Regions from separate parts of the Homo sapiens genome. Here regions 2 and 3 are each linked to region 1. The links are contacts of gene promoters, found by promoter capture Hi-C in blood cells and fetal thymus (Javierre and others, 2016). All regions are on one chromosome and are shown on one strand. The core of a region is centred on a gene start or on the middle of the fragment in contact, and the rest is flanking DNA. Distances in the headings are between cores, read along the strand shown. Region 1 holds the start of HEBP1 (heme binding protein 1). Region 2 holds the start of KLRK1-AS1 (KLRK1 antisense RNA 1). Region 3 holds the start of MAGOHB (mago homolog B, exon junction complex subunit).

Evidence for each region. The method cuts DNA at HindIII sites, captures the fragments that hold promoters and counts their contacts. A CHiCAGO score of 5 or more calls a contact.
Region 2: a contact is called between a fragment that was not itself captured here and the fragment with the promoter of HEBP1 in region 1, in 1 of 17 cell types (activated CD4 T cells). The highest score is 5.1, in activated CD4 T cells.
Region 3: the fragment with the promoter of MAGOHB here is called in contact with the fragment with the promoter of HEBP1 in region 1 in 3 of 17 cell types (non-activated CD4 T cells, naive CD4 T cells and activated CD4 T cells); the score reaches 7.3 in non-activated CD4 T cells.

Annotation. Positions count from the first base shown.
Region 1 is chr12:12,998,893-13,001,840 of GRCh38, reverse strand. It overlaps HEBP1 (heme binding protein 1), which reads left to right and starts at 1,576. Exons shown (of 4, transcript NM_015987.5): 1 at 1,576-1,804. The coding sequence starts at 1,727. The region is part of intron 2 of GPRC5D-AS1 (GPRC5D and HEBP1 antisense RNA 1); the gene reads right to left. It also overlaps the pseudogene HTR7P1. RefSeq lists an enhancer at 1-57 and silencers at 482-631, 1,392-1,511, 1,562-1,711. The HindIII fragment of the contact is 1,773 bases long and covers 719-2,491 here.
Region 2 is chr12:10,363,657-10,366,604 of GRCh38, reverse strand. KLRK1-AS1 (KLRK1 antisense RNA 1) reads right to left here and starts at 2,836. Exons shown (of 4, transcript NR_120430.1): 1 at 2,572-2,836. RefSeq lists enhancers at 1,786-1,855, 2,316-2,365. The HindIII fragment of the contact is 1,966 bases long and covers 471-2,436 here.
Region 3 is chr12:10,612,222-10,615,169 of GRCh38, reverse strand. MAGOHB (mago homolog B, exon junction complex subunit) reads left to right here and starts at 1,561. Exons shown (of 5, transcript NM_018048.5): 1 at 1,561-1,731. The coding sequence starts at 1,638. RefSeq lists enhancers at 747-1,624, 1,441-1,840, 1,625-2,504. The HindIII fragment of the contact is 2,009 bases long and covers 1,227-2,948 here.

The sequences.
Region 1 (2,948 bases), core at 327-2,826:
TGGCGGAGCTTCTTGACGAAGCACACGGAGATACCACCAGGCAGTTGCCCGCGATCGCAGAGAGATGAGCGTCAGGACAGAGCCGATCACAACTTTCTCGGCCCTTTCTTGATTTGCTCCCCGCGGCCGGAGGCATTGCCCGGGGTTGCGTCCCAGGTGGGCGCCGGGCTGGCCGTCACCTCGGGGGCCCCCGCTCAGCAGATGCGGCGTCCCGGAGACCGCGACCGGTTCGGCGCCACCGTCGGGGCTCAGGTCGGGCAGCCTGCCCCCCACCTCCGGCAGGAGGAAAGAGCAGAGGCGCCCGTAGAGGTCCGGGTGGCCGCTGCTGTTAACATCCATCACTGCGCCGCCGTGTGGCGCTGCCCAAGAAGCCGCCCCACCCCCCTCCCCACCCCCGCGGCCGCCACAGGCTCCGGCTTTCGGCCCCGGGGCTTCAACTCGCCGGTTCCCCTCCGCCCGGCCCAGCTTGAGGCCTGCACCGGCCGCTGGGCAGCGCCAGGCTCGGCCTCGGGGCCCCGCCTGTCCCAGATCCCCGGCCGCTGCGTGAAACGCGAGAGCGCTGCCGAGCGGGGACTCCCTGAGGGAGGGACCTCGGACCCCGACGGACGCCCGGGACGCGCGGGCTCTCGGGCGCTCCGGCGGGGCTCGGCCCGCGGCTCCACAGCCCGCTGCACCCGCGCGGCTCGGAGCAATGGAGGATCAGGCAGCGGCAGAAGCTTCCGTTTCCTCCTTTTTAAATGGCTCCAAAATATTTCTTGTCGGTGGTGTGGAGTAGAGATTTATTGGTAAAATACTTGACAGAAAGCAGGCACTCAGCTGAGTAAATGGTGACAAAATTGGTGAGAAGATTTTTGAACAGGAGTGAACGAGAAAAGCCATGCTTAGAAAAGTCACCTGGAAACTGTGATTTAGAGGGATGGTAGGAAAGAGTGGCAGCAGGAAAGTGGTTTGGATGCTCTTTCAATGGTCTAGAAGAGGTCATGGGGCGGGGGTAGAGGGACAGCTACCAAGACAGGGAGCCTGGCCGCCGCTGTACCAGCGGGATCGAGCCTTCGGGTAGAGGACCGGAGAAGCGTGAGCAACCCGGGGCTCGGAGGTTGGAGCCCAGGCACCTGAGAGAGGACGTTCCCCACCACCGCTGCCTAAAGCCACTCCAGGCGAGAATCGCTTTCCAGGGCCCCAGCGGATAGGTTAGACTCAGAATAAGAGAAGGGGTCTGCGGAGGGGGACGGCCTGAGGCCCGCGGCCGGGTTCCCTCCCCAGACACCCGCGGAAAGCCCGAAAGGAGGCGGAACACGGCCCAGCGGCTCGCCACGGCGGGCCCATCCCTTGCTTAGCCGCCTCGCACCCTCGCCTCACCGCACTGCTGCACTGCTGCACTGCTGCCCTGCTGCCCGCCCTTCGCATCACTGACCCGCCCTCTCTCCGCCCCCTCGCCTCGCCGCCCCGCCCTCTCTCTCCGCCCCTTCACCTCGCCGTCCCGCCCCCTTGCCTCACCGCCGGGCTGAATTGCCGCCCCGCCCTCTAGCCACGCCCTCTGGCCCCTGCCTCTAGCCCCGCCTCTCGCCTCGCCGCCTCGCCGTCCCGCCGCCTTGCCGCCCTGCCACCCTGCCGCCCTGCCGCCCTGCCGCCCTGCCGCCCTGCCGCCGGTGGTCGCTGCCCGTGGTGCTCCGTCGCCCCCGCCACCTCACGTCCTCCCGTGCGTCGGGAGCGTCTCGGCTACAACATGTTGGGCATGATCAAGAACTCGCTGTTCGGAAGCGTAGAGACGTGGCCTTGGCAGGTCCTAAGCAAAGGGGACAAGGTAGGCCCGCAGGGCTGCCGAGGACCTGAAGGATTGCTGCCTCCCACCCCCACCCTCGTCGGGGCTGCAGCGGGTGCTGAGGGGCAGGTGGGGCAGGAATGTGCTATCGAAGGTGCGTTCTGGTGTCTGTCGCGAGTGCGGCTCTCCACCGCCCAGCATTTGGACTGGGAAGGAAAGGAGTGAGAGGTCCCCCTGCAGCCGGTGGTGAGAGGAGGGGGGTAAACAGGAGAGACTGATCCAAGGAGAGAATCCCAACTTGGGGAGTTGGGCACTGCCTGTTGAATGCATTCTTTCGTTTAAAATATTCCAAACATTCCGAACAGTTTGATTTGTTGAGAGACACTCGGTTGCAGAAATGAGTGTCGCAAGAAACTCCCAAGTACTAGAGAACTGCGGATAGTAGCCCCCTTTATCCGCGATTTCAGTTACCTGTGGTCAGCTCTTGTCCATAACTATTAAATGGAAAATTCCAGAAATACAGAAGTCCTAAGTTTTAAGTTTCCGGCCATTCTGCGTAGCAGGATGAAATCTTGATTCCTGGGACCGGAATGCCCCTTTGTCCAAGGTCAGCCTCCTATCTCTAGTAGCCGCCCTTAGTCACTTAGTAGCTAGCTTGGTGATCGGATCGACCGTGGCGGTATTGAAGTAACCCTTATTTTACTTAGTAATGGCCCCAAAGTGCAAGCTTAGCAATGCTGGCATATTGTTATAATTGCTGTTATTTTATTATTGTTGTTCATCTCTTACTGTGCCTAATTGATAAAGTTAAACTATATCATAGGTATGTATGTATAGGAAAAAACGTAGTAGATACAGGGTTCAGTTTTGTCCACCGTTTCAGGTATCCACTGGGGGGCTTGGAAGGTATCTACTATAGATAAGGGGGACTACTGTGTAAAAGAACAAGATCTGTGCAGAATAGATATAAATGCGCTACGCAGGGAGCACAGAGGCAGTCAATTCTGCCAGGGGGCTATGATGGGGACCTCAGTGGAGTGTCCTGAGCTGGGGCCTCAGGGATGTGTAGGAGTGCACACAACAGAGAAGAGCATGCACAAAGGCCCAGAGCTGTACCATTGCTTTTGGCCAGTTAGATCCTCTGGAGTTGGGTACCTAGAATACAGAATGAGTGAGAAGAGCATAA
Region 2 (2,948 bases), core at 204-2,703, 2.6 Mb after region 1:
AGCTTCTTGTGCCAGTAGGGCAGTAGCAGCTAGTGCTTTAAAACAAGGAGGCCATCCAAGTGCCACAGAATCTAACTGCCTGGATAAGTGTGTCACTGGGCAATGCCATGACCTTATGGCTTGAGTTAGAATCTTTATGGCCTCCCTTTCACTTGTGGACATTCAAGAAGATAAGCTTAGTTAGTTAGATCTGGCAGTCCTAAAGCTGGGATCTGAGTCAAGGCTTCTTTGATTTTTTGAAAAGCCTTCTTCTGGTTGGCCTCCTAGAGGAGGAGTCCTTCTTTCCTCCTCTTTGTGGCTTTGTATAATGGCTTAGCCACAAGCAAGAAATTTGGGATCTAAATGCGGAAGAACTTTGCTGCCCTTAGGAACTCTGTTATTCGACGCCAGGTGGTTGGAGTAGGAAGTGCACAAACAGCCTGCTTTTGTTCACTACTAAGCCATCTTTCCTCTTGGCTTATGTAAAAGCTTAAGTACTGGACACTTTTCGAGCAGATCTGAGCTTTTTTCTGACCCTTTATATCCTGCCTTTCACAGCAGTCTTGGGTTTCTCCTGGGTGCAGTAGCCCTTGGCCAGTGGTTTTTTCATACCATGGCCTTGACCATTCTCCTTATTCTTTTGACATTTATCCTTCTAGTGTCCTTTTCTTTTGCACCATGTACATTAATCTCTCTCTAGCCTTGGCTGGCTTTCAAATTGCTGTCCAGACTAGCCTTTTCCACAACTGCATTCACACCCGCATCTATGCCTCCTTGCAAAGCCAGCCTCTCTTCCCATAAGGGCTGCTGCTTGTAAATAAGCCTTTATTAAGCCTCCAATCAGCTTTCTTCTTTGCCTCCTGGTCTCAGTTAATGTACACCTTGGTAGCCACTTTAATAAGCTGAGTAGCATTCACACCTACGGAGCTTCTAACTTCTGCAATTTATGCCTGATATCTCCTTGGGCCTGCCTTACAAATGCCGTATTTACTATTCACTGATTTTCAGCAGCCTCGGGGTTAAACAGAGTGTACAAGCAAAATGCCTATAAAACTGGCTGGTGCTTTTATCTGCACCATGGAGCACTTCTGAGATTTTTTTATATTGGTTGCCTTTTCCTTTTAACATCCTTTAGCCTTTGTAAAAGTGCTTCTCGGCACTTTTGTAGGTGCTGAAGCTGGACTGCATCGTCTGGGTCCTAGTGGGGGTCTGCTTGTCCTCTTAAGAGGCAGAAGCATAACTTGGGCATGACTTGACCTGAGACGGCCTGCCTACCTTTTTGAGCCTTTCGTTTTAACTTCCTGGAGCTCCGATTTCTCCTTCTCAGGTGAGAGTGGGAGCATGTATCTGTTTGAACTTACCTCCTTAGGGGCAATTAGCCTTGGTAAGGGGGGATAGATTGGAATATAGGTAGGAAGGATCTCTATTCCATCCTGTGATTCTTGCAAAACTGGTTTTCTCTTTCCTGAGACTCTTTTTTTTTTTTGGTCTGCATAGCTTCCAGGGCAGCTGACTTTCACTTTCACTTTTGGATCGGTGGTGCTAGAAGCCTCTGTGACTTTCCCTTTAACTCCGTAGCTGCCAGCACAGTTGGTTTATCTCGGCGTGAGCTGCGAGCATTCTACAATAAACTGCTAGGCAGGGCTGCGTACATTTAGCCATGAGTCAATATAAAGACTAGGTCTGAATGCCCTGGCTGTCCTCCGACCCTAGTCACCACCTTAAAACACACGGCCAATTTCTCTACAGTGCCTTCGGCCAGCCATCTGACACTAAAAGAGGGCTATTGTAATTCACAGTATGTCTTTAACTTTTGAACATCCAGTTTCATCCCACAATCACCTCTAAATCCTTTCTTTAAAATTTTTATCATGCACTCCAAAGGAGTTGGTTTTGACGCTTTCCCTCCCATTTCCTCCCTTGCGGCACACTCTCACTCTCACTCTCACTTTCACTCTCAGGTCCAGCAGACCCGGTCCTATTACAGGAGTTTCGGACACTGCTTAGCCAGGAAGGTGTCTTCCCCTGTCACAGCCTGCTACAGCTGCAAAGCTCGTCCTATCAGCTGTATGCAATGTCCTAGGTCTGATTTCCCCCCACACTCGCCTCAGAGCACACAGCCCGTGCTAAGGGATCTGTGCCTCCCCACGTCACTCCCTGCATTGGCCTCTCCCGAGACCATCGCTTTCACACACTTTCACACACCTTCCTTGCCCCAGGATTCCTCATTGGACGAAATGAGCCTCTCTCATGTCCCGGGTGAGTCTAGTTAGGCTCCCACTTTCACACACATACACCACTCCTACTGCAGGAGTCCTCATCGGATGGAATGAGCCTCTCTCATGACCTGGGTGAGCCTAGTTAGGCTCCCATATTCACACACATACACACACCACTCCCAGTTCCTGTCTCCAGATCCAGTGAACCACTTTCACTTTGTTAGTGGGGACATAAGCTTCATCCAAATTGGCAGGCCACTCCTGCTGCCCCCAGCCACTCTGGGTTGGATTAGTGGTCAGTCCCTGGGAGGTGATCAAGCTCCCCTTTGTCCCTATGGGACGGGCTTTCCTGCCTTGGGCCTATACTCCTTACCACAGTTCCTGAAGTGCTGGTATCGTCCTGCAGCCCCATCCTCGGTTCCATTGCGCTGCCAGGCAGGGTGCTGGGACGTGGGGAGAGCTGGTCTATATATCCGGGTGAAGCTCAGCTGTGGCACACCTTGGATGCCGGGTCTCTCCTGGCCCCGGGGACCTAGTATCGCAGGCAAAGGGGACAGTAAATCTGTCATCTCCAATCCTGATGAGCCCCCAGAAATGTATCGGGATATATAAGGAATCAGAGAGACCAAGGGATTGAGGAGGATATTTATTATTTAGGTGCACTGGTCCACTTGGATTAACATCCAAAGGACTGAGCCCCAAACAAAGAGTCAAGTTACCTTTTAAGCATTTCGTGGGTGGGGGAAGATT
Region 3 (2,948 bases), core at 312-2,811, 2.4 Mb after region 1:
ACCAAACCTGGCTAATTTTTGTATTTTTAGTAAAGACAAGGTTTTGCCATGTTGGCCAGGCTGGTCTTGAACTCCTGACCTCGGGTGATTTGCCCCCTTTGGCCTCCCAAAGTGCTGGGATTACAGGCATGAGCCACTGCGCCCGGCCACATATAGGCTTTCTTTTCTTTTTCTTTTTTTTTTTTTTTTTTTTTTGAGACAGAGTTTCGCTCTTGTTGCCCAGGCTGGAATGCAGTGGCACGATCTCAGCTCACTGAAACCTCTGCCTCCAGGGTTCAAGCAATTCTCCTGCCTCAGCCTCCCGCGTATCTGGTATTACAGGCACGCGCCACCACGCCCAGCTAATTTTTTTGTATTTTTAATAGAGACGGGGTTTCACCATGCTGGCCAGGATGGCACATATATTCTTAATTATAGCAATTGCTCCCTTGTGCTGGTATTCGCCTTACGTGTTTGCTTTCTTTTCTAGACTACCAGATCAAATGGCTTATTTCTAGTTTCAAACTGTCACATAGGAAATGTTTGTTAAAACTAATGTTTTATAAAATTTAAAGCTTATTTTACATATTATCTCATTAGATCTCTCAAGAATTCTGTGAGCTTGGCAATGTAGATTGCTGTATATGCATTAGGCTGATGAACAAACAGGCTTAGAGATAGTCACTTGCCCGAGGTTAGTTAGCTGTTAAGTGTTGGGATTGAATCCCAGGTCTTCTCTCCACCACTTTCTACTAAAAATCACTGAAGGTTGTCAACCGACAGATAGGATTACTCTGTGTGTTGATAACAAAAGGGTGATCAATAATATCTGAAAAGGAAACTTTGTGTAAAAGTCTTTCCCTTACCTTAAAAACTACGCCACACTGGAGCATTCTTTCATTCCCCCAATTTAATTCTATCTGGCGAGAAACAATAATGGGCTAAACCATTATTGTATCGTAAGTCAAATTGCCAAAACTTCACAGGCTACTAAAAGTTAACCCTTATTGAATGAATTAAGAACCTTAGAAGTTCTGCTGTTAAAAAAAGCACGGTGACTGTCAGGGTTTTTCAGGTGTGGGGGGTGTGAGGGTTTTAAGAGTTGGATTCCTTTGACTTTGTCTCTATTATTATAGGCTTAGAGGTCCCGGGTAACTACCAATCGCTATCCAAAGGGAAAGCACCCTGTTAGAAATTAAGTAAGAAAAATAGTTTATATTCCCGGTCTGCCATTTCGATTCTAAGCTTTATCTTTATTTAGCTCACAGTTAAAGGGGGCATAGAGCCACACCCACCTCACAAACGCCGCAAGGATTGGGAGACCAGAAAAGTAAAAGTGACTTGCAAACCTTTAGCTCTAAGTCCATAAAAAAGACTATCATATGCTCACATTTCTAATCTTTGCTAGTATAATGTAATCTTTATTTTGAAAACAATGTGCCTCCATTCCTAGTAAAGCGAAAGTCACGGCGCTGCGACCCTCCCTTCAGCGCCTCCGGACTCTCACGCGATACTCGGCTTTCACGCTTTAGTCTAGGGCTGCACTGCAGGAGGAAGAGAAGCGCCTGTGGTGACGCACTTATTCCGCGCGATGACGTCACTGCAAGGCGCCGGGGGACACGTTGGCTGCGTTTTCGGCGGGCTTCCCGGGTACAAAAATGGCTGTGGCTAGCGATTTCTACCTGCGCTACTACGTAGGGCACAAGGGCAAGTTTGGGCACGAGTTTCTGGAGTTCGAATTTCGGCCGGACGGTGAGAAGAGGCCCACGGCACGCGGTGCTGGGAAAGGGGAGCGAGACCGAGAGGCCGGGTGGTGTGGAGGGTACAGGCGGCGGAGGCCACTGCTTCCCTCGAAGGAAATAGGAGCTTAAGAATAGAGGAGGCATAAGTTGGTTTTATAAATGAAAGAGAATTAATTGCAATAAATTAAAGCTAATCCTGTCACAAACTGAAAAGTTGAACCTACAGTAATCAGAATTCTGTAACAGTGCACCAGAAGGGACTCTAGATCGTCGCCCTGATTGAAAATGCTAGCACTTTTTTGAAAACACCCCCACCAGCGGGTGGTCCAGTGGATGAATAAAATCTTGTGGTGACCAGTACCTTTTTTTCATTTAGGCTGTGTGTTTTCTTTGAAGGGGAGGAGCCCAACGTGTTAACAAATGAGAATAATAATATGTTTTAGGTGTTTACGTGTAATTGTTCACCATAGGACGCATGAAGAGTACCAAGCAAGAGGGGAGAGGTAAAGTTCCACAGGAGGGAGTCAGGAAGATCTTCTTAGAGGACGGCACTCTTGAGATGAGTCTCGAAATGAGAGACTTGGCCTTTGAGAGAAAAAAACAGACTTCCAGAGCAGTATGAGCAGAGGATGAGGTGAAACTGCTACCCAAGTAGTGTGCAACAGTGTGTTTTCTGACAGCGCTATCCTTAGAGAATGTTACATTGATCTTGCCTACCTGCAACAAGAAAGTTCATTTGGATATATATTTTTTGGGTTTTTTTGAATGCACGTTTTGTGCTGGACAACAAGCAAATACAAAATTTTAAGGTACAGTAATGAGTAAGACAAATTTAACTAAAGCAGATTTGTCTTGGTGGGAGGCACAGACATTTAACTATAAAGCAGTATGCATATTAAGTCCTATAAGCAGGCTTTGGACAATGTTCTGTGAGAGCAAGAATAAAAAATTAGAGAAGGAACGTATATTAGGAAAGGAGAAGAGTATCAAGCATTTCAGGCAGAACTCACGTTAACTACAGTCCTGCAATTATTATTATTATTATTATTTTGAAACAAGGTCTCACTCTGTCACCCAGATCTGAGTGCAGTGGCACGATCTCAGCTCACTGCAACCTCCCCCTCCCTAGTGCAAGTGATCCCTCACCTCAGCCTGCCGAGGTGCTGGGAATACAGGCCCACGCCACCTCACCCAGCTAATTATGTTATGTTATGTTATGTTATGTTA